Linked DNA regions of Homo sapiens: all the other regions are linked to region 5. Evidence: promoter capture Hi-C in 16 types of primary human blood cells and fetal thymus (Javierre and others, 2016). All regions are on one chromosome and are shown on one strand. Each heading gives the region's core, a stretch centred on a gene start or on the middle of the fragment in contact. The rest is flanking DNA. Distances are from core to core; before and after follow the strand shown. Region 1 overlaps LOC112268038 (a long non-coding RNA gene). Region 2 overlaps ABCA1 (ATP binding cassette subfamily A member 1). Region 3 has its middle 29 kb from the start of CT70. Region 4 has its middle 1.6 kb from the start of NIPSNAP3B. Region 5 holds the start of MRPL50 (mitochondrial ribosomal protein L50). Region 6 overlaps TSTD2 (thiosulfate sulfurtransferase like domain containing 2). Region 7 overlaps CT70 (cancer/testis associated transcript 70).

Evidence for each region. Contacts are between HindIII fragments. The CHiCAGO score rates a contact against its expected background, and 5 or more counts as called.
Region 1: a fragment that was not itself captured here is called in contact with the fragment with the promoter of MRPL50 in region 5 in 5 of 17 cell types (total CD4 T cells, total CD8 T cells, fetal thymus and 2 more); the score reaches 10.6 in total CD4 T cells.
Region 2: a fragment that was not itself captured here is called in contact with the fragment with the promoter of MRPL50 in region 5 in 1 of 17 cell types (naive B cells); the score reaches 5.4 in naive B cells.
Region 3: a contact is called between a fragment that was not itself captured here and the fragment with the promoter of MRPL50 in region 5, in 2 of 17 cell types (total CD8 T cells and activated CD4 T cells). The highest score is 6.0, in total CD8 T cells.
Region 4: a contact is called between a fragment that was not itself captured here and the fragment with the promoter of MRPL50 in region 5, in 12 of 17 cell types (total B cells, activated CD4 T cells, fetal thymus and 9 more). The highest score is 25.0, in total B cells.
Region 6: a fragment that was not itself captured here is called in contact with the fragment with the promoter of MRPL50 in region 5 in 1 of 17 cell types (naive B cells); the score reaches 6.7 in naive B cells.
Region 7: a contact is called between a fragment that was not itself captured here and the fragment with the promoter of MRPL50 in region 5, in 1 of 17 cell types (total CD4 T cells). The highest score is 6.2, in total CD4 T cells.

Annotation. Positions count from the first base shown.
Region 1 is chr9:105,238,622-105,241,910 of GRCh38, reverse strand. The region is part of intron 1 of LOC112268038 (a long non-coding RNA gene); the gene reads left to right. Among named protein-coding and RNA genes, the nearest start is that of SLC44A1, 4.4 kb to the left of the region's middle. The HindIII fragment of the contact is 746 bases long and covers 1,526-2,271 here.
Region 2 is chr9:104,789,688-104,792,842 of GRCh38, reverse strand. ABCA1 (ATP binding cassette subfamily A member 1) reads left to right here. Exons shown (of 50, transcript NM_005502.4): 42 at 1-57; 43 at 845-907; 44 at 1,815-1,921. It also overlaps a transcript of NIPSNAP3B not described here. Among named protein-coding and RNA genes, the nearest start is that of NIPSNAP3B, 27 kb to the right of the region's middle. The HindIII fragment of the contact is 6,998 bases long and covers 1-3,155 here.
Region 3 is chr9:104,961,476-104,964,464 of GRCh38, reverse strand. No RefSeq gene overlaps it. Among named protein-coding and RNA genes, the nearest start is that of CT70, 29 kb to the left of the region's middle. The HindIII fragment of the contact is 1,716 bases long and covers 539-2,254 here.
Region 4 is chr9:104,760,965-104,764,089 of GRCh38, reverse strand. No RefSeq gene overlaps it. Among named protein-coding and RNA genes, the nearest start is that of NIPSNAP3B, 1.6 kb to the left of the region's middle. RefSeq lists a silencer at 33-232. The HindIII fragment of the contact is 717 bases long and covers 1,487-2,203 here.
Region 5 is chr9:101,396,958-101,399,882 of GRCh38, reverse strand. It overlaps MRPL50 (mitochondrial ribosomal protein L50), which reads left to right and starts at 1,265. Exons shown (of 2, transcript NM_019051.3): 1 at 1,265-1,382. The coding sequence starts at 1,291. ZNF189 (zinc finger protein 189) reads right to left here and starts at 1,032. Exons shown (of 3, transcript NM_003452.4): 1 at 694-1,032. The coding sequence starts at 726. RefSeq lists enhancers at 1,032-1,561, 1,094-1,622, 1,623-2,152. The HindIII fragment of the contact is 1,128 bases long and covers 263-1,390 here.
Region 6 is chr9:97,627,595-97,630,762 of GRCh38, reverse strand. It overlaps TSTD2 (thiosulfate sulfurtransferase like domain containing 2), which reads left to right. Exons shown (of 10, transcript NM_139246.5): 2 at 3,151-3,168. Among named protein-coding and RNA genes, the nearest start is that of TSTD2, 4.2 kb to the left of the region's middle. The HindIII fragment of the contact is 6,117 bases long and covers 1-3,168 here.
Region 7 is chr9:104,983,964-104,987,034 of GRCh38, reverse strand. The region is part of intron 3 of CT70 (cancer/testis associated transcript 70); the gene reads left to right. Among named protein-coding and RNA genes, the nearest start is that of CT70, 6.3 kb to the left of the region's middle. The HindIII fragment of the contact is 1,325 bases long and covers 731-2,055 here.

The DNA of each region.
Region 1 (3,289 bases), core at 649-3,148, 3.8 Mb before region 5:
AGCTGAGCCAGCCAGAAATGCTTCCCAGTGGTCTGGTATTGCATAATTGGCTGTGTGAATTCCAAGGGTTCCAGCTTCAGGTGGAGGTCTTGGTGCTGGTCACTCACTGAGGGAAAACATTGAATTAATGGTCTTTCCAATGATTTTTATGAAGCCTGACTTCTTGTTCACATGATTTCAGGTTTTGGGGTAACAGAAATACAAATGCGTCTCTACATGTATATGTCTATAACTGCTCAGAATAGTCCTCTTAATTTAAAAACCGTGGCATTTGGTGCTGTGGCTGTGTTATTTACATTTTAGCACATACTGTGCTCACAGTCACATCCCACAAGAGCTTATTTGCTTCAGCAGAGCCCTAGCTTCCAGATTTGCCTCACAACCTCTTCCTCCTGAGCATTCACATATCACCCCAGGGAGATGCTCCAAAAGCCAAAACTAATTGTAACCAAGGGCTGTAACTGTTCATTCATTGCCAGAGAGGCAAGAGCAGTCTCTATTTGAGAAGGTAGAAATGTATCTCAGCCTCCCAGTTAAACCAGAAGTTAGAAATCCACTTTACCTGAAGAGAGCTTTCCCTAACTCAGGCATGCAACAGAAAAAGACAACATTGTATTCAGCAAGACTGGCAATTCTTAAGTCCTTAGCTCTGCAACTTTGTTTCTGGTCACACTTGTAAGTTGATGTTCCTCCAATATTTATTAATAACTCTGGCTTTTATTTGTGGTTTCACTTGGATTTTTGTTGCAAGATCAAACAATGTATGAATTCTCTTTAAAATGCTTGTTATAAACTTGTGTTTAGAGGGGTGTATCTTCCTCCTACTACTTTTCTGAATGACTTTTTTAAACATTGTAGTCATTCAATTCATTTAATAATTTTTATATTGACTGCTTTCTATGAGCTAAGCATGTTCGATTTTGATTAAGTAGCCTGTGCTCATGCATCAGTTCTCAGGGATTTGAGCTGTTTCCAACATAAAATTAGTGTTGGTTTTTCATTTTGGGATGCTGGGATGAGGAAGGAGAGGAAATGGAAGCAGGGTGATGAGTATTAATTTGAGAAGGAAAGAAGAAATTTGTAAAGTAGGGAAATCTATTTATTTAACAGTGCATGTCTTGAGCCATTATAATGAACCAAATACCTAGCTGGGTGCCTGGGATTCAAAGACGAAGTACACTCCTTGCCTTTAGATCATTCTTAAGGGGTGGAAAGATATTTAAACCAAGAACAGAGTATAGTTTAAATGTAATGAAAGGGAAAAGTCCACATACTATATAAGCGTAAAGGAGGTCCACAAAGATTGATTTTTTTTTTTTTATTTAAAAAATGCTGTTACATTTTTTTCCCTATTAACCCTTTCTTACTTCCACTAGACAAGTTCCCACTGTGTACCAAAAGCCTAGAAAACAGTTTGGTATCCAGGAATGTTTCATAAATATTTATTCAATGAATGAATGAATTTTGTCAATGAGTCCCTAGGAATTTAGATTTATAAATGCCTAGAATGTCTCAAAGGAAAGCTTATCTTAAATATTAGATTACTACTTTTTAAAATACTTGTTGTTGCTGTTGTTTTACTGTAAAACTTCTGGTATAAAATAGGTTTATTTTTCTGGCTGGGCACAGTGGCTCATACCTGTAATCCCAGCACTTTGGGAGGCTGAGGCAGGCAGATCTCTTGAGCTCATGAGTTCAAGACCAGCCTAGGCAACATGGCGAAATCCTGTCTCTACAAAATATACAAAAATTAGCCGAGCGTCGTGGTGTGCATCTGTAGTCCCAGCTACTCAGGAGGCTGAAGATGGGAAGATGGCTTGAGCCTGGGAGGCAGAGGTTGCAGTAAGCCAAGATGGCACCACTGCACTGCAGCCTAGGCAATAGAGCCAAATTTTGTCAAAAAATAATAATAATAATAATTTTTCTAATATTGGAATTATAAAAGGCTTTTCTTTGGATAACACTAACCTAATACCATAGTAAAAGACAGATAGGATTAACTACATAAACATTTTAAAACTCCTACATGCAAAAGATACTACAAAATGAATACAAATGACAAAGAGATAAATAATACTTGCAAAGTCTATGTAAAGGTTTACATAATACACAAGAAGCTCCTATTTAAAACCAAAAGAAAAAAGAAAAAAAAACCCACTCCACAGAAATATGAGTAAAGGACATAACAGACAAAATCCACAGTGAAAGAAATACAAGAACTAATAAAACGTGAAATGTTGCTCAGCCTTACTAATAATAAAACTGTAAGCTTAAAAATTAGGAGACATCATTCCTCACCTAGCAAATTGGCAAAGATTTAAAAGCTTAATAATAACCAGTGTGAGAGAAGGTCACAGTACTCTATACATGATTAATGGTGATATAAATAGTTACCCTCTTTCTGGGGAGAAGTTTAAGAATTTGTATCAAAATGTAAAAGGTGTATTCTTTTAACCCAGCAGTTCTTACCCTGAGAATATCCAACAGCAATACAGTTTTGTTTTTAATAAGGACAAATTGAGAGAAAACTAAATTTCCATAAACAGAAGATTGGTTAAGTAATTGCTTAAATAATAGGAAGCACTATGCAACTGTTAAAAAGTAAGAGCAATCTGTATTTAATGACATGGGCTATGCATAACTAAAATATACCATCAACTAAAAACAGTAGTTTACAAAACAGGATTATGATGGAATCCTGTTCATGTCAATCGTTGTGTGTGTGTGATGTAAACTGTGTGTGCACAAGCACGTGTGTGCATGTTTGTGTAGATGAGGTTGTGAGGAATATGTACCAATCTGTTAACAGCAGTAACCTTTGGAGAAGAGGTGGGGATAAATCGTGGTGAAATAGAACCAGACAGAAGAGAGACATGTTCTGAATTATAACTTTTGAATTTTTTGTAGTTTTGACAAAAGCATGTACTTAAAAAAACTATATTTAAATATTTTAATATTATAAAACATTTTATTTTATTAAGGACAGGGAGGGGGTTCTCCTGAATGACCTGTTAATCATGAAGAACATATACAGTGTCCAGAGTACAGGGAAAGAACAGGTCACAAATGCAATGATTAGGAAAGGCTTCATAAATTGTGTTTCAGCTGGTCCTTAACACGTAGCTTTGGATAAGTGAAGATGATGGGAGAAAAAGAGAACTCTCAGGTATAAAATGACTTAAGCAAAGGTGCAGGCTTAGAAATCAATAAGATCTATTGCATGTTCCAGTTATCTGTTGTTGTATCCCAAACCAAACTAAAACTTGATGACTTAAAACAACAGCAGTCA
Region 2 (3,155 bases), core at 323-2,822, 3.4 Mb before region 5:
AGAATTCTTGATGGTGGAGGCCAGAATGACATCTTAGAAATCAAGGAGTTGACGAAGGTGAGAGAGTACAGGTTACAATAGCTCATCTTCAGTTTTTTTCAGCTTTATGTGCTGTAACCCAGCAGTTTGCTGACTTGCTTAATAAAAGGGCATGTGTTCCCAAAATGTACATCTATACCAAGGTTCTGTCAATTTTATTTTAAAAACACCATGGAGACTTCTTAAAGAATTCTTACTGAGAATTCTTTTGTGATATGAATTCCCATTCTCGAATACATTGGTTTTATATGCTTACATTTATGTGTTAGTTATTAAAACATACTAATATTGTATATCTAGTCAAAACTGAGGTAGAGAGAATAAATGGTTGATTTTGAGTTTGAGTTTCATAGTCCAAAAAGCTGATATATTGCCTGTGTTCAAGAGGGTCTATATCAGCCCTCTAGATGCCAGCATCTCCAAATTTTACTTTTTTGGAATCTGTACAGTATTTGCAATATTTTTATTACAAATTTCTACTCTGTGGAATTTAATTTTTAAAATACCTGCAATACATATATATGTTGAATAGATGAAAAATTATGTAGATAATAATGAATGATACGGTTCTAAAAAGACAGGTTAAAAAGTAAGTTCACTTTTATTTTGAGCTTCAGAATCATTCAGAAGCCAGTCGCCACAAACGCAGACCAAGGCTCTTGGCACATCAAATATGCCTATGGCTTAGGGTTATTGACAAGTCTTATGTTGCAGTGTATGTGGTTTATAGTCCTGCCTTCCACAGTTGCTTGGGAGAGCTGTGAGTCACTGAGGCTTATGAATGTTTACATTTTGTTTGTTGCAGATATATAGAAGGAAGCGGAAGCCTGCTGTTGACAGGATTTGCGTGGGCATTCCTCCTGGTGAGGTAAAGACACTTTGTCTATATTGCGTTTGTCCCTATTAGTTCAGACTATCTCTACCCAATCAAGCAACGATGCTCGTTAAGAGGTAAAAGTGGATTTTAAAGGCTTCTGTATTTATGCCAGGATGGAGCAATTAGTCATCGAGAAGAGAGGGACCCTGTATGTCAAGAGAATGATTTCAGAGAATCCAATACAATTTAAGAAAAAGCATGGGGCTGGGCGCAGTGATTCACTCCTGTAATCCCAGCACTTTGGGAGGCCGAGGTGGGCGGATCACGAGGTCAGGAGATTGAGACCATCCTGGCCAACATGGTGAAACCCCATCTCTACTATAAATACAAAAATTAGCTGGGCATAGTAGTGCATTCCTGTAGTCCCAGCTACTCGGGAGGCTGAGGCAGGAGAATTGCTTGAACCTAGGAGGGGGAGGTTGCCCAGATTGCGCTGCTGCACTCCAGCCTGGTGACAGAGTGAGACTCATGTCAACAACAAAAACAGAAAAAGCACGCACATCTAAAACATGCTTTTGTGATCCATTTGGGATGGTGATGACATTCAAATAGTTTTTTAAAAATAGATTTTCTCCTTTCTGGTTTCCGTTTGTGTTCTTTTATGCCCTTTTGCCAGAGTAGGTGGTGCAATTTGGCTAGCTGGCTTTCATTACTGTTTTTCACACATTAACTTTGGCCTCAACTTGACAACTCAAATAATATTTATAAATACAGCCACACTTAAAATGGTCCCATTATGAAATACATATTTAAATATCTATACGATGTGTTAAAACCAAGAAAATATTTGATTCTTCTCTGATATTTAAGAATTGAAGGTTTGAGGTAGTTACGTGTTAGGGGCATTTATATTCATGTTTTTAGAGTTTGCTTATACAACTTAATCTTTCCTTTTCAGTGCTTTGGGCTCCTGGGAGTTAATGGGGCTGGAAAATCATCAACTTTCAAGATGTTAACAGGAGATACCACTGTTACCAGAGGAGATGCTTTCCTTAACAAAAATAGGTGAGAAAAGAAGTGGCTTGTATTTTGCTGCAAAGACTTTGTTTTTAATTTATTTAAAGAAATAGGTTGTTATTTTTGATTACAGTGGTATTTTTAGAGTTCATAAAAATGTTGAAATATAGTAAAGGGTAAAGAAGCACATAAAATCATCCATGATTTCAATATCTAGAGATAATCACAATTTACATTTCCTTTCAGTCTCATTCTCTTCTTTTAACAGCTTTATTCAGGTATAATTTACATACAATATAATTTGCTTGTTTTTTAAGAGTATAATTTAGTGATTTTTGGTAAATTGAGAGTTTTGCAACCATCACCACAATCCAGTTTTAGAACTTTTCCATCACCCCACATCTGTCTTATATACACATATAAATGTGCCATACAATTGAGATCATACTGTATGTAGAATTTAAAATTAGTTTTTATTGTTAATGAGTGTATTATGAATATTTCCCAGTGGGTTACATTTCCTAAGATGTGGAATTTTACATTGCTACATAAAATCCCCCTATGTACATGTACCTATAATTTATTTAATAAATTCCTTATAAATGTTGGACACATTAGTTTCCATTTTTCACTATGTAAATATGTCCCTGTATACATCTTTTATTATTTCCTCAGGAACAATTCCTACAAAGTAAATTGCCCTCTCTAAAGAGCATACAAATTGACTGAGCCACCGTTAGGCCATTTTCTGAGACTGCACAGGTCACAAAGCAATCTGATCTTTGGGAATACAGCTACATTTTATAGGCTTCTTAGATAATGTTACTCTAAGTACTTTAAATATGTGGGGCTTCTCTGGGCTTTTTTTTTTTTGAGACGGAGTTTCACTCTTACTGCCCAGGCTGGAGAGCAATGGCGCGACCTTGGCTCACTGCAACCTCCGCCTCCCAGGTTCAAGCGATTCTCCTGCCTCAGCCTCCTGAGTAGCTGAGATTACAGGTGCCCGCCACAATGCCTGCCTAATTTTTTTGTATTTTCAGTAGAGATGGGGTTTCACCATGTTGGCCAGACTGGTCTCGAGCTCCTGACCTCAGGTGATCCACCTGCCTCAGCCTCCCAAAGTTCTGGGATTACAGGCATGAGCCACTGCGCCCGGCTTCTCTGGACTTATTATGTGGAGAGATAGTACAAGGCAGTGGCTTTCAGAGTTTTTTGACCATGACCGTTGTGGGAAATACATTTTATATCTCAACCTAGTATGTACACACAGACATGTAGACAC
Region 3 (2,989 bases), core at 147-2,646, 3.6 Mb before region 5:
TTACAAAGCAAATGAAATTACTTATTTTATTTTGTTTTTTGAGATGGAGTCTCACTCTGTGGCCCAGGCTGCAGTGCAGTGGCATGATCTCAGCTCACTGCAACCTCCACCTCCCAGGTTCAAGCAATTTTCCTGCCTCAGCCTCCCGAGTAGCTGGGATTACAGGCGTCTGCCATCATGCCCGGCTAATTTTTTGTATTTTTAGTAGAGATGGGGTTTCACCATGTTGGCCAGGCTGGTCTTGAACTCCTGACCTCAAGTGATCCACCCGCCTCGGCCTCCCAAAGTGTAGGGATTACAGGTGTGAGCCACTGCGCCCGGCTACTTGCAAATGAAATTACAAAGAAAATGAATATTATAAAGAAAATGAGTAACTGCATTATCAACATGTATAAATCTCAGAAACATAATTTGTGCAAGAGCAAGTTACAGAATGATGTCTACAGTGTCAGTATGATACCACATATAAAGTTTGGAACATACAAAAGAATACTAGTTATTGATTATGGACACTTTTATGTAGAAAATATAAAAAGCTTGTATGGGATTAATAAACACCAAATTCAGGGGAAAGGAAGGAAATAAAATTGGAAGGAACTTCAAACATGTCTGTAACATTTTATTTCTTTATTTCTTGAAATTGTCCATCAAAAAGAAAAAAAAGGAAGGAAAAGACGGACCAGTTTGGGGAACTGAAGTTACACTTACATTTTCTTTCTTTCTTTTTTTTTTAAGATGGAGTTTCTCTCTTGTTGCCCAGGCTGGAGTACAATGGCACTATCTCAGCTCACTGCAACCTCCACCTCCTGGGTTCAAGCAATTCTCCTGCTCCTACTCAGCCTCCCGAGTAACTGGGATTACAGGCATTGTGCCACCACGCCTGGCTAATTTTGAATTTTTAGTAGAGACGGGGTTTCTCCATGTTGCTCAGGCTGGTCTCGAACTCTCAACCTCAGGTGATCTGCCTGCCTCAGCCTCCCAAAGTGCCGAGATTATAGGCGTGAGTCACCGCACCCAGCCACACTTAACATTTTCAAATAACTTTCTGAGTTTATCTTATAATTCAATCCTATGAGCCATCACTCACTATAGGATCTCCTTGGCACTGAGAACTAAAGCAGGTAGGATCTTGCTGACAGCCATCTGCGCAGCTTTGTGTCTCCACATTCCTGCAACACAGTGGGACTAGTGGAGACAACATGGTTAGCTGACACTAACTGTCCTAAATTTGGCCAAAAAATTCTTACTCTAGGAGTGGAGCAGGTGCAGGCTGAGGGCATGGCTTTCTACTACAGGTCTATGGTGAATGCAGAGAGAAGGTGCAATTGTAAGCACTAAACACATCTCTCCATTCGCGTCTTCAAATCAAAACGCCAGATTAATCTATTGGAATTATATATACCAGTGAGTTGGCAGGTGAGCCAAATTCTTACACGAGAGTCTCTTCTCTCCCTTGCAATCAGTTTTCAGTTTTAGAAAAGATGTTTTTTGTACCTTTTTTAAAGGATTGAAACAGCAAGAGATCCACCTGCAGAGAACATATTGTATTTTGCTATATTAAAGCTATTTAACTGAAAATCCAGTTCTGCTGAAAAGTTTTAACCCTTGTTTTCTTATTATTTTAGTAACACATTGTCACTATAATAATTGGCTATTGAAAAATGTGTCTTTTTTTTTTTTCGTAACAAGAACACATAGGACTTGTTTTCTGGTTTCCACCTTCGACTTTATACCTTGAATCACAAGTCCTCCTGGGTTCTCAATAATGTGTATGAGAATGCCTTTCCATTTATCAGCAAACAAGACTTATTAATTAGGAACCCACATTTGCACACTACTCTACTGAGCACCTAATGAGTAGGTTTTATTTTATTTTATTTTATTTTACTTTATTTTATTTTATTTTATTTGAGACCGAGTCTCTCTCTGCCGCCCAGGCTGGAGTGCAGTGGTGTGATCTCGGCTCACTGCAGCCTCCACCTTCCAGGTTCAAGCAATTCTCCTGCCTGAGCCTCCTGAGTAGCTGGGACTACAGGTGCATGCCTCCACGCCCGGCTAATTTTTTGTATTTTTAGTAGGGACGGGGTTTCAACGTGTTGCCCAGGTTGGTCTTGAACTCCTGAGCTCAGGCAATCTGCCCACCTTGGCCTCCCAAAGTGCTAGGATTACAGGCGTGAGCCATCACGCCCAGCCTATGAGTAGGTTTTAAAAAAGACACCATCTTTACCTGATAGAGCCTAGAGTTGTATAAGCTTTTCAGTCTTCCTCTTTGGCCATACTGTTTTTGCTAATCGTTTTATAACCTTTAAATTGTTGGAACTGTTTGAGGCCAGGACTATAACCCCGTTCATGCCTTGGCTGAAGGTGGTAGGAAAGAGTTTCTCTGTCTTTAAGGAAAGCCTGCTTAGCTTTTGGCCATGGGCAATTGACTTTTCACCTTCTCAGCTGGTTTACACACAAGATTCTCTGTGAGGCAAAAAGCCAGATACAGCCTATTTCAATTGCCTCACACCCGGAGAAGGGAAAAGTGGTCCATCTTTACACCATGGTGTAGAGCTGCAGCAAACAGAAAATCTTCAAGGCAGTGTCAGCAGCTAATAACATCCACCCACACACACTTGAATTCACTTTATGGGGCTTACTCCCATATGAAGTAACGCCAAAAAACATTGACCTGTATAAACATGATCAAGTTCTATTATCATACCACTGGAATAAACAGCAGCAGTTTAGAAAAAAAAAAAGTTCTTAGTTAACAGAACTATGATCAACATACTTTTATGTGAGGGGCTCCATTTCTACCAACAAAGAGCGATGTTTTAAGAGTGAATTTCTCGCTTAAACCTTGTTACTTTAGTTAGTTTATCAATGTATAGCCCTGGCTGCTGATTTTTGGCTAGCATGGCTTTCCAGGGCAGAGGTTTCAGACTCCCAGGCAGGTGAGGACTTAGGTCTCTCCGAGAAATGATGTAGTAGAGCTTTCTCATTT
Region 4 (3,125 bases), core at 596-3,095, 3.4 Mb before region 5:
GGCGCGACAGGTCCCGCAGTTGGCGTCTTTCTCTTCGGCGCTGAGCCTCGGTCCCCCTTGGTTTCCTGAAACGTTCTTGCCCCAGACGTTAGAGGTGACAGAATTAGCTGAAGGCTGGGATCGTTCCTGCCCCACCTTTCTGGGCCCTGACCTCATTCGCTCCGATGCGCAGTTGTGTAGATTCGTAAATGTGCGGCGGTTGTGCTTGTGTTGCCCCTGGAGAAGGAAGGGGAGGTGTTCAGCGTGTGCATGTGCAGTGCTTTGCATTTAAAGTCGAGATGTTGACAGGGTTAACTTGTTTCTTTGTTTGAGACGTAGTCTTGCTCTGTCGCCCAGGCTGGAGTGCACTGGCGCGATGTCGCCTCACTGCAAGCTCCGCCTCCCGGGTTCACGCCATTCTCCTGCTTCAGCCTCCCCAGTAGCTGGGACTACAGGCGCCCGCCACCACGCCCCGCTAATTTTTGTATTTTTTAGTAGAGACGGAGTTTCACCATATTGGCCAGGCTGGGACAGGGTTAACTTTTACAGGTTGTGATAGACGTGTATTTGTAGACCAGTGAGCCTTCGCTTTTCTGCATTATCTGTCCCCATTGCCACCCCACTGTGATCTTGGAAGGCTCCTAATAAAGATTTAATTTTCCATGAGCTCAGTGGAATAGCAGCACCGAGCCTGATAGGAAAAAGTCGAAGTTAAACATAGATAGTTTGAAACTAGATCGTTCTGTAAGCCTTAAGAGCAAAACAGCCGACCTCTGGTCTAGTCCTCCCAGTCCCAGAGTACTGGTCCCCAGACTAACCACCTTCAACATTTTAAGCTGTTCTTCTAATACCTGTTTCCGTATGTTTTTTATTTTTTTGAGACAGAGTCTTGCTCTGTCGCTCAGGCTGGGGTGCAGTGGCATGATCTTGGCTCACTGCAACCTCCGCCTCCCGGTTTCAAGAGATTCTCCTGCCTCAGCCTCCTGAGTAGCTGGAATTACAGGCGCACGCCACGACACCTGGCTAATTTTTCTATTTTTAGTAGAGACGGCGTTTCACCATGTTGGGCAGGCTGGTCTTGAACTCCTGACCTCAGGTGATCCTCTCGGCTCAGCCTCCCTAAGTGCTGGGATTACAGGCACGAGCCACTGCGCCTGGCCCGTATTTTTAAATAATAGTCATTTTCTGCTATTTCTTGCATTTTCAGTTATGGAGAGTATGTGTTGCCTTCCTTCTGTGGCAGATGAGGATTTAGGTCTCACAGAAGCCACTCCCCCGGGGGCTTATCATTTGTGTTGAGAACATTCAATATCCTCCTAGCAATTTGAAACTATATATTATTAACTATAGTTATCCTGAAGTGGTATAGAGCACTAGAACTTATTCCTCCTATCTAGCTATAATTTTGTTTAACAAATCTCTCCCATCCTTGTCTTCCTCCTAATCTTTCCCATCCTCTAGAATCCTGTTATACTTTTTATTTCTGAAATCAACTTTTTTTAAAGCTTATACATTAATGAGAACATGTGGTGTGCAACTTTCTCTTGTTGGCATATTTCACTTAACATAATATCCACCAGTTCCAGCCATGTTGCTGTGAAGGACAGGATTTCATTCCTTTTTACTGCTGAATAGTATTCCATTGTGTATATATAACATACTTTCTTTATCCATTAATCTTGCTGGACACCTAGGCTGATTCTGTATCTTGGCTATTGTGAACAGTGCTGCAATAAACATGGGGGAGGGAAGATGTCTTTCTGATATACTGATTTCTTTTCCTTTGGATAATGCTCAGTAGTGGGTTATTTGTAGTTTCTTGAGGAAACTCCATAGTGTTCTCCATAGTAGTTCTAAGAGTTTACATTCCCAACAGTGTATACGATTTTCCTTTTCTCTGCATCCTCATCAGCTTTGTTTTTTGACTTTTTGATAATAGCCTAACTGGGGTGAGATAATACCTCACTTCCCTGATGATGAGTGATGTTGAACATTTTTCATGTATTTGTGAGCTATTTGTATGTCTCCTTTGGAGAAATGTCTGTTCAGATCATTTGCCCATTCTTAAATTGATTTGTTTGGTTTTTATTGCTGGTGAGATGTTTGAGTTTCTTGTATATTCTGGATATGAATCCCTGTCAGATGAATAGTTTGCAATTATTTTTTCCCATTCTATAGGTGGTTTTTTCACTCTGTTGATTTTTTCATTTGCTGTGCAGAAGCTTTTTAGTTTGACATAATCTATTTTTGCTTTTGTTGTCTGTGCTTTTGAAATCTTATTCATAAAACTTTTTCCCAGACAATGTCCGGAAGCATTTCCCTTATATTTTCTTCTAGTACTTTTAGTTTCAGGTCTTACACTTAGCTCTTTGACCCATTGAACTGAATTTTTGTATAGAGTGAGAGGTGGGGGTCTAGTTTCACTCTTCTGCATATTGATATCCAGTTTTCCTGGCACTATTTATTGAAGAGACTGTCTTTTCCCCAGTGTATGTTCTTGGCACCTTTGTCAAAAACCAGTTGGCTGTAGATGTATGGATTAATTTCTGGGTTATATATTCTGTTCCATTGGTCTGTTTCTGTTTCTATCCCAGTACCATGTTGTTTTGGTTACTATAGCTTATAGTATATTTTGAAGGCTGGTAGTGTGATGCCTCTAGCTTTGTTCTTTTTGCTTAGGACTGCTAAAAGCAAATTCTTGATAAAGAAATAGACCTATTCTTTATAAGATATTAAATAACAATATCTAATGGTAGGTGTAAGAGGTATAATAATTTTGAAGTAGTGATGAAGGTAAAATAAATTTTCTGTATTTGCAACAACTATAAATAGAATTTGACAGTATCTGTGATTTTTACTGACTAAAAAGTTGCAGGTCCTGCTAATAATATTGTGGTTTGTTGCCTACCTTCACAAACAAAGGAAATGCTTAGAAGTTGGTGCCAATAAAGATGGAACTTTTACCTATCCAAGTTATCAGACTCTGAATTCTATCCTTCAGGATTTGTGTACTAGAGGTTACAAACCACTACTCTAGAGTATATAATTAGGAATGGAATTGCTGGGTCATAAGTTATGTATATATTCATCTTTATTAAATCGTGCCAAACTGTTCTATAAATGTATATTCTTAATAGCAGTGTATG
Region 5 (2,925 bases), core at 16-2,515:
TGAAATAGTATGATTTCTGTAGTCAGTTCCTGTTGTCTCAAGGACAATTCTACCACTAAAAGTGACAGAGGCAATCACTTATTGTGGCCAAGTAGGCTAGGAGGAACATGATAACTGAAAGTTCCATATGTTGCCCAATTCTGGGAACGAACTGTAACTGACAGACATCTCAGACTAGAAAGGACCTACGGATAAGGCTTTTCTGATTTATTATGCCCTGAGAGTTTAATTTTAGTAAACTGCCCCAAGGCCTCTCCAAGCTTCCCTCACCTCATTGCCTACTTCAATTTTCCATTTGCACTGGCTTGTGACTCTATTCAATTCAATTCCTTGAGGTTCTCTAAGCGTGTACCTTGGGGTCCAGGCACTGTGCCAGGAACAGAAGACACAAGGGAAGGTCAAAAATGGTGCTTCACCTGGAGAACTCACAAATGAGAGAGCTAGTCTGGAGCATTACTTATTTTCTCAGGCCGATTTATCAAGTCTCTCTAGAAAAAGAAAAAAAAAAAGGGAGCCAGTGGGCAGTTTGTTCGCGAACCGCACCCCAATGCACTAGTGGGGAGTTCCTTGCAAGGCGCTGGCCCTAAAGAGGCGGTCAGGAGGTTGGTGGGGGGCCTGGGGGAGAAAGCAGTGGTGCGGCCTAGCTGGGGTAGCGGCGAGACAACCGGGATCCCCGGGGGGGTGCTTACTTACCTTCGACTCCGGCGGGGGGCTCGGGGAAGCCATCTCCCAGGCAGAGAATAGGGGCAGGAATTGGGGGCGGCCTCACGGAAAGGAGCCTCTGGTGAGGCCTACCCGGCTGCTGGAAATTAGGCTCGACGAATACGAGGATCCCTGGCTGGGTCTGGCCAGTGCCTGCCTCGGCCCCCAGACGGTCACGACCCCAACAGCATATCAGACGCGATCCCTGGCTGTCCCCCAACCCCGAACCCCAACCCCTACTCCTGCCTGGTTACGCAGCCTTTCAGGCCTCGCTAGAGCCTCCTCCCCGCTGCCAGTTCCTCCTCCTTGCAGCCAAGTAACGCTATGACCGCCCGCCCCCGGACCAGAAGGCGTCACCCAGATTCTTCCCGAGGCCCCCTCAACTACAACTCCCGTCATGCTCGGAAAGAGCGCCGCGGTCCAGACGCCGCCAGCAACAGCTACTGGACTACATTTCCCAGCGTGCAAAGGGCGAGGGAGCCTACAGGAAAAAGAAAGCTCTTGCCACTGGGATTGTATCCGATTGGCTGGTCTGGGCGCGTCACTGCTGGCTGAAGGCTGCGCTCAGGCCCGTGGATCTCATCGAAGATGGCGGCGCGATCTGTGTCGGGCATTACCAGAAGAGTCTTCATGTGGACAGTCTCAGGGACACCATGTAGAGAATTTTGGTCTCGATTCAGGTAAAGCTTTATGGTGGACGGTGGGTCATGTTCAAGGAAAGTTAAGGAGGATTAGGGACGAATTCAAAATAGAGTGTTACGCCATCGTGGTCCCGCGCCTGATCAGAGCAAGGACAAGGAGGTCCGGTTAGGGTCCCGAGTTGAGAAGCACTCATTGAGTGGTGGGACCCAGTCTCTTCCACTCTCGGCCTTAGTTTTCTCATTTTATAACGGAAATACCACCCCCTTTCCTTTTCACTTCACTCATTCATTTATTTATTAAGCAAGCAGGATTAACCTCGTGTGCGAGACACCGAGTGTGTTGTCTGCAAACACATGAAAGCGCTTGGTAAACTAAACTCATTTGCCGGCTGTGTTTCTTCACAAGCAAGGTTCAGTAATGAAGTACTGCCTCCTCCTTTTGTTTGTTCATTCATTCAGTCATTCAACAGATTTCTTAGGGCCAGCATTACTCTAAGCGCCTAGGATACAGCAGGAAAAACAAAATCCATTCTCATCCTCGAGGTACTCCAACATATGAGGAAACAGGCCCACAGGAGGGAAGTGATTTTCCCAAAGTCACAAAGCAAGTTAATTGCAAAGCTGGATCTAGAACATATGTCTCCTAACTCCCCATCTACTGCTTTTTCTGCTGCACGGCTGCACCATGTGTAATTGTTTGAAGGTAAATCTAATTTGACTTAGATAGTGTTTAGGAAATCAAAACGTATGGTAGGAACCCTAGGGAGCAATGTATGCTCTCTTAGGTTTAAAACAAAAACCACTACAATTAGGAAAGATCTTTTTCATCAGTTCAGATATTAGCTTTCCCTCTTCTTTGGTCAATATTTGTTATTATCTCTCAAATCTCTTCCAAGTTTGTTTTATTCATTCACTCAACAAATATTTTTTAGGCTGTTTACTATATGCCAGGCTATATCTTAGGTGTTGTAAGAATACAGTGGTTACTAAAACAGACCAAATTTTTGTTCTCGTAGGGCATATGTTCTAATGGAGGAAGAAATGAACAAATGTGTAATGTAATTTCAGAAAGTGGTAAATTATGAAGAAAACTAGAGGAAATAGATTACTGAGAATGATGATTATATTTTCTTTACTATTTTAAAAATTTTATATATTTAAGATATACAACTTGATGTTGATTATTAGTCAAGATAATTATCATATTCATCTCTTCACATACTTTCTGTTTTGTTTTGTTTTAGAGAAAGGAGTTCTCACTATGTTGCACAGGCTGGTCTTGAACTCCTGGACTCAAGTAATTTTCCCACCTTGGCCTCCCAAATTGCTGGGATTCCAGGGGTGAGCCACCACACCTGGCCAGTTAGAATTTTTGTGTGTGTGGTGAAAACACTTAAGATTTACTCTCAGAAGATTTCAAGTATACAGTACAGTATTATTAATGATCGTCACCATGGTGTACATTAGATCTCTGGAACTTATTCATTCTACATAATTTAAATTTTACCTTTGTCCAACGTCTCTTCATTTCCGCCACCCCTGGTAGCCACCATCCTACTCTCTGTTTCTATGAATTTGACTT
Region 6 (3,168 bases), core at 296-2,795, 3.8 Mb after region 5:
GATGAAACCCCATGTACTCATCATCAACTTCAGTAATTCTTAATTCATGGGTAATCTGGTTTCATTGATATTACCTCCTCTCTCTCAATTATTTTGAGGCAAATATAGTTTTAAGTCCTTGGAAGTAGATGAGATCACCTGTAGGGTAAGTATAGATAGAGTGGTTCAACATTTAGAGGTTGGGGTAATAAGGAAGATCCAGCAAAGGAAACTGAGAAGCAGGGGCCGTTATCCCTAGCTGGTATTTTCATGATTTGTTTGTTTGTTTGTTTGTTTGTTTATTACTTACTTAATGTCTCTCCTTACCAGAATATAAGCTCCAAGAGAGCAGGTACTTCAACTGTTTCATTCATAGCTGCATTCCCAGGACTATTCCATGGGCCCGGCACATAGCAGAGGTGCCACAAATAATAATAATTCAGAGTATGTACATAAATCAAAATAAGCTGAGACTGAAAAAAGATGCAGAGTCGGAGGAGATCATTTTGGGGTGGTGGGAAAGGCACCCCACACTCAGGTGCAGAGACCTTGAGTCAGGAAAGAACATGGCTCATTTGTGGAACTGGGCATGGTCCAGTGTGGCTAGAGTAGGATATCTGATGGGGAATGGGGAGCATAGTCAGAGATGAGCCTAGAGTATAGGGAAACTAAGTTTTTCAGGCCTTCAAAGGAAGCAGTGACACAGGGTAGCAGACAAGACATAAGTGAAAGGTGACACTTGAGTTCAGTCTTCATATACATAGTAAGCATATGGGGAGGGAAAGAAGTGAAAAAGTAAGGGAAACAAAGCAGTGGAAAGCATAAATGCTGGGACAGACTACATCAGGTCATATAGAGGGAGATTGGAAAAGATGCTGGAGGTGGGACCGGATTGGATAGTAATTCCTTTCGACAATGTTACCTCCCAAATGTACTGCCCTTATAGGTAAATAAGTTATCTGTTTCTAGAACAATGCCTGGAACCTAGAAGACCCTCCATAAATATTTGTTGAATGAATTTTAATTTGGAAATGATATATGTACTTTCTCTACCTTTACAATAAAACAGCTTTGAGCATGGAGGAAGTGTGTTGAATAAGATTCTTCTACTTATTTTACTTCTGCCTGGAAGGCTTACAGGTTTGTGTAGAGTTAGGGATGTACTTTTTTCAGTGGGACTTTATATGAAAGACATTTTCATGAGAAAGGAAAGAGAAGCTAAAGAAGGTAGTATTTCTTCACCCAGTCTCTTCCACTTATTTTTCAAATACAAGAGAATTTAGGTTTAATAAATCTGTATTACCTTGCCTTACCCTTATAACAAAGCTCATTTTGAGCCCCATGAAAGCACCACTTAGCTGATTCAAATGCATTTTATGTGGTGCAAGTGACATCTTAATTTATGAATCCAAGGAACAAAGGTCCTTTATAAGAAAGTTGGTATTGCCTGTGTGTGTCTGTGTATGTTTAGTCTCCATCAGTCCTATCCAGCATTGTTAACAAGCAGTGTGTGTTCCCCCACACATAAACTGCTCCTTGTTGCCTTCACCTGGTTGAGGTACCCTGTAGGCAGAGTTGTGAATTGGCAAAGTTTGTCACCAGTGTCTCCCACCTTCCTTTCTCTCATTCTTAGTGGTGCTTTTTCTGCTCCCTCTTGTGGAGTTTGGGACTACTTTGCATGTTACTATTTTCAGAACCTTCAGTGTCCACCTCTGGCTGCCTCCTTCAATATTGTCCTGAAGAAACTAACTTTGCCAGTTCACTAGTAATATGAAATAACCAGTTGTTATGTTGTGGGGCAGGAATTTGGACAGGGCACAACAGGGACACCTTGTCTCTGCTCTCAGCTCAGAGGCCAATCTGGAATCTGAAGGGTCTAGTGGTTGATGCTGGCTGTCAGCTGGAGGCCTCTGTTCCTCTCCACCTGGTTCTCTGTGTGTGGTCTCTGCATGGGTTGGATTGGCTTACTCACAATACAGTGGTTTGGTCTCCTCAGCGTGAGCATCTCAGAATGAGAGCTTGCACTAGCGTATCCTTTTGAGAACCCAACCTCAGTCATACAGCATTGCTTCCATCACGCTTTATTTTTGGGAGTAGTTAACAAGCCTGCCTAGGCTTAGGGAAATGGACCAGAAATACTGCTGCAGCCATTTTTGGAAAATATAATCTGTCACAGCTAATTTTTAAATAAAATTTTAATGTTAAATTTAAAATACAGCATTCAATTAAAATATTAATAATATTACCATTCATTGAACCCTAGTTTGTGCCAGACACTATATATTAATATTTCTTTCCAGTCTACAGTACAGTACTGTAATGTAGATACTACAATGCACAATTTCCACAAGAGAGATTTAGAACTCAGAAACCTTAAGTAGCTTGCCCATGTTCACATGCTTGGCAAACTGCTGCAGCACAAACCAAAGCCCATACTTTTTCTCAGTGTGCCTCTTAGTGCTTGTCACCTGTCACCTTTGCTTTACAAAAGAACCAACATGGTATGATGGTTGTAGTGTGTCCATTTTGACAAGATTTGGCCACAGTAGCGATTTTGACATTTCTTCTGGCATATTACAGTGGGGCTGTCTTGGGAACTATTTCTTCTAAGGAAGGAAATTTTCATAGCTCTGAAATTAAGGGGCAAAAAGAAGAAAGTGTTTATAACTGAAGGTGCTGGCACACATCTTGATTGATTTGGGTTGTACCTGTTGCTTTTCTGGTATTATTTACCCTAATGACTGCATGGCTCGCTCCCTAATTCAGGTTTCTGCTCAAATGCTATTGCTGCAGAAAGGCTTTTCCTACTCTCTGTGTTCGAAGGGCTTCTCCATCACTGCCTCCCTACCCTGCTGATTATTCTTCATAACCTTTACACCATCTGACTTTAAAAATAAAAAATCAATTTATCCACTTGTTTACTTCACCCCACTGGAATGTAAACTCTAAGCAGGCAGAAACTTTTTCACTTTCGTTTACTGCTATATTCTCAGTGCTTAGAATAGTGCTTGACTTCGAGTCGTTCCTAAGTAAATACTATTGATTTAGTAAGTAAATGGATGGTTAGCTTGGGCTACTTTGCCCATGCTGATTTGCGTGATTGATTAGCTTCATATTTTCTTCAAGAAATCAAAGAATAGCATGGCTGCTTCTTTCTTATTTATATTCTAGGAGGTATTTAACTGAAAG
Region 7 (3,071 bases), core at 144-2,643, 3.6 Mb before region 5:
TCAAAAAATATATATAAATAAATAAAATAAAATTGACGGTTTTTTTGTAATGTAAAACCTCCTTTTTTCCAAACTTTAATAAATGTCACTACATACGTGAACGCCTCTATAAGTTTCCTGTGAGTATTAATTTGAGTTAAACATCTGTGAGATACAATGTGGACTACAGCAAAACAATCCCTTACGAGAATAATTCTGAAGAAGCTGGTGTTGGGAGCCTGAGCTAATCAAGAAATATAAGGAACCCTTTGGAATTCAAAGAAGGCTTGGGAAGATTATTTGGTTTACCATAATCCATAGAAAAGGAGGTCTTAACCACTTATTTCCATCTGAGGGGTCAGGATAACTCCAGCTGGCATCTGAATTTCAGATGTAAAGAACCTAGCATAGAGTAGGCACTTCAAAAAGTGGAATTTAAACAATTTAATTGATTGAATCCTTATGGAGTTTTTTTTATGCCAGAACAATTCTAAGCACTTTACATATACAACACTTTTAATCCTCATTATAACTCTATATGTAATATTATTACCCCACTTGAAAAATGCATACACTGAGTCACAGAGAACGTACCACAGTTAGCAAGTGGTGATACCAAAGTTCAAATACAGGCACATGTATATTCTAACTAATAACTATTGTGGTCTCTGCAACTATAGCTGGCGTTACTCTGCACTGCCAAGCTGATGCAAGACTCCCTGTCCTCTGGGTGTAGGCACAATTTTAAGCTTATTGACCACCGACTGTGGAAGAGGTTCCAACAGGCCAGGAAGTTATCAGGAGGGGAGGAAGTGGAGAAGTAGCTTCAAGCCTGGAGGCTTTCTGCCCATGGAGCATGTCCAGTGTGGCCAAGGAAGACATTGTCTTCCCTGGCTGTTTGTTCTCTAAGCTAGAAATTATCTTAAGGAGATAGTAATGTGCAAAAAGTGATTGCTTTCCTGGCTGAGATGTCCTGAGGGGGATGGAAGTAAACAGACTTTGAAGGGATGGGATACTTAGGATGGCTGGAAGGCAGCCCAGGAGCTCTAAGGGGATACAAGAGAGGGCACTGCAAGGGGACAGTGATGTCACCAGGACACCGCGTCCCCCAAAGCCAAGGGAAGCAGTAGCTTAGTGGCTCATAGGACTGTGCCACCCTTTTCCACTCCTAGCACTCACCCTCCAGGCAACCTCAGGTGGCCTCTTCAGGCCTTTGAGAGATGCCAAGGATCATGGAATTGGCTTGGAGGGAAAAACATTATGGAAATCTAGGAGATGCTTGGCAGAGATGCCCCCCGCCCCTCCCCCCACCAAAAAAAAAAAAAAAAAAAAAAGAAAGCTGTTTGTGGGAACTGTGGCCATAGATTGCCATTTGTTGGAAGACCCAAAGAAAGCTAGTATAGTAAAACAGACCCAAGTTTGGAGACTGTTGTTAATTAATTTCTGTAAGCCTCACTTATCTCAAGTATAAAATGAGGATAATGACACCTACCTCACAGGGCTATTTATAAGATAAAATCAGAGAATGCAGGTGAGGATGCTTTGAAACTATAAATACACCACAGAAATGTTATTTGCATTGCTGAGAGAAACAGTGTTTGGAACATTGTTCATAATCAATCAACTCAATTTCCAGCTACATTTTGGTAGTCAAAATCCAGTCCCACCCCCAAATAGAAATCAGTGTCCCCTCATCAAAACTGAAAAGAAAAACACTTCGATTTGTGATTGGTTTGCATCAGCTTATTCCCAACAGATATTCCATAATTTTTTACACTGGATCTTTCCCCTCTGCTGCTAGCTACAAAGAGAGATTAGATGAGCCATCTGGCTGATAGGGAAAGTGCTTTCTCATCTTTTAAAGTATCTTCCTCATCCATCAAAGGGCTCAGCGTGATTGGATGCTTCTCTCATTTGCTCCCTCTTTTCTTCCTCTGGCAAGTCTCTGTGCCTTTCAAATTGTAAATAATTTCCCAGACACAGATTACCTTCTCTTGGGCCCTCCTGCACCCACCCCATCAACTGTCCCTTAGCTACTGATGCATTTTTCCTCTCACATTCTGGCACCCCCAAGCTTCCAAATAAAGATATTTAATAGCTATTCCTGCTCTGTAACAAGAAATCAATATACTAAAGGAAAATATAGATTTGGGGATGGAACAAAAAGGTTCTAGGAAGCAGAACATCTGTCGCCTTCATAAATTGTTCCAAAGCTTCTCATAAATGAGACAGTAAGTTCAGAGTTTCCCCTTTGATCTCTTTCACTTCATAGACATTAAAGGTAAAGGGCTATGACTCTTTGTTTTGTACTCATTTGCTAGATTCAGTTACCAAATACGTTTATGAGAAATATAGGAATTAAAAAACCTACAACTGGGAAACATCAGTCATGAATGCAGTGTCATTAAGAGGCAAGTTAATTATAATCAGAGTGTAAAAACAGTGGGCCTGAGGAAGAGAGATTATCCTTTTTAAAGTTGATATAAATGAAGTCTACAAACTGATAAACACTCAAAGCAGTCAATGTAGGTTATTTTATTCTCAAACCTGCTGCGGCTTGGACTTTTACCAAGTCCACTCTTCCATCCATAACCAGGATTTAATAATAGCTGTAATTATTAAATATTTATTCTGAGCATTGGGCTAGCATCTTATGTACTTTATCTCTTTCAATCTTCATAATAATATCTCGTGAAGTGGCAGCCTTGAAGATGAGGAAGTGGAGGCGATGGGCTGTTAGCCACTTTGCCCAAACTCCCCATTCTGATAAGCAGCAGGGCTGGCATGTGAACTCAACTTGTCTAACTCCAAAGTTCAGGCTCCGAAGTATTATTTAGAGTTCCTTCCCTCATTTCTGACATCGTATCTTCATTCAAATTTCCCCTCCATTTTTGGTTTCTGTACTTCTCATTCTAATAAATTACTTTTATAAATATTGCTTTATTGAACAAAGCCAATAGTTGTAATTATAAGAAAAACAACAATATCAGTTATCATTGGAGGGTTTACTGAATGTCTGTCCCTGAGCTGGACCCTCACAAACACAGTTAAATTCAGGTTTGAGGAATCCTGTACTCACATCTATTCTTCAT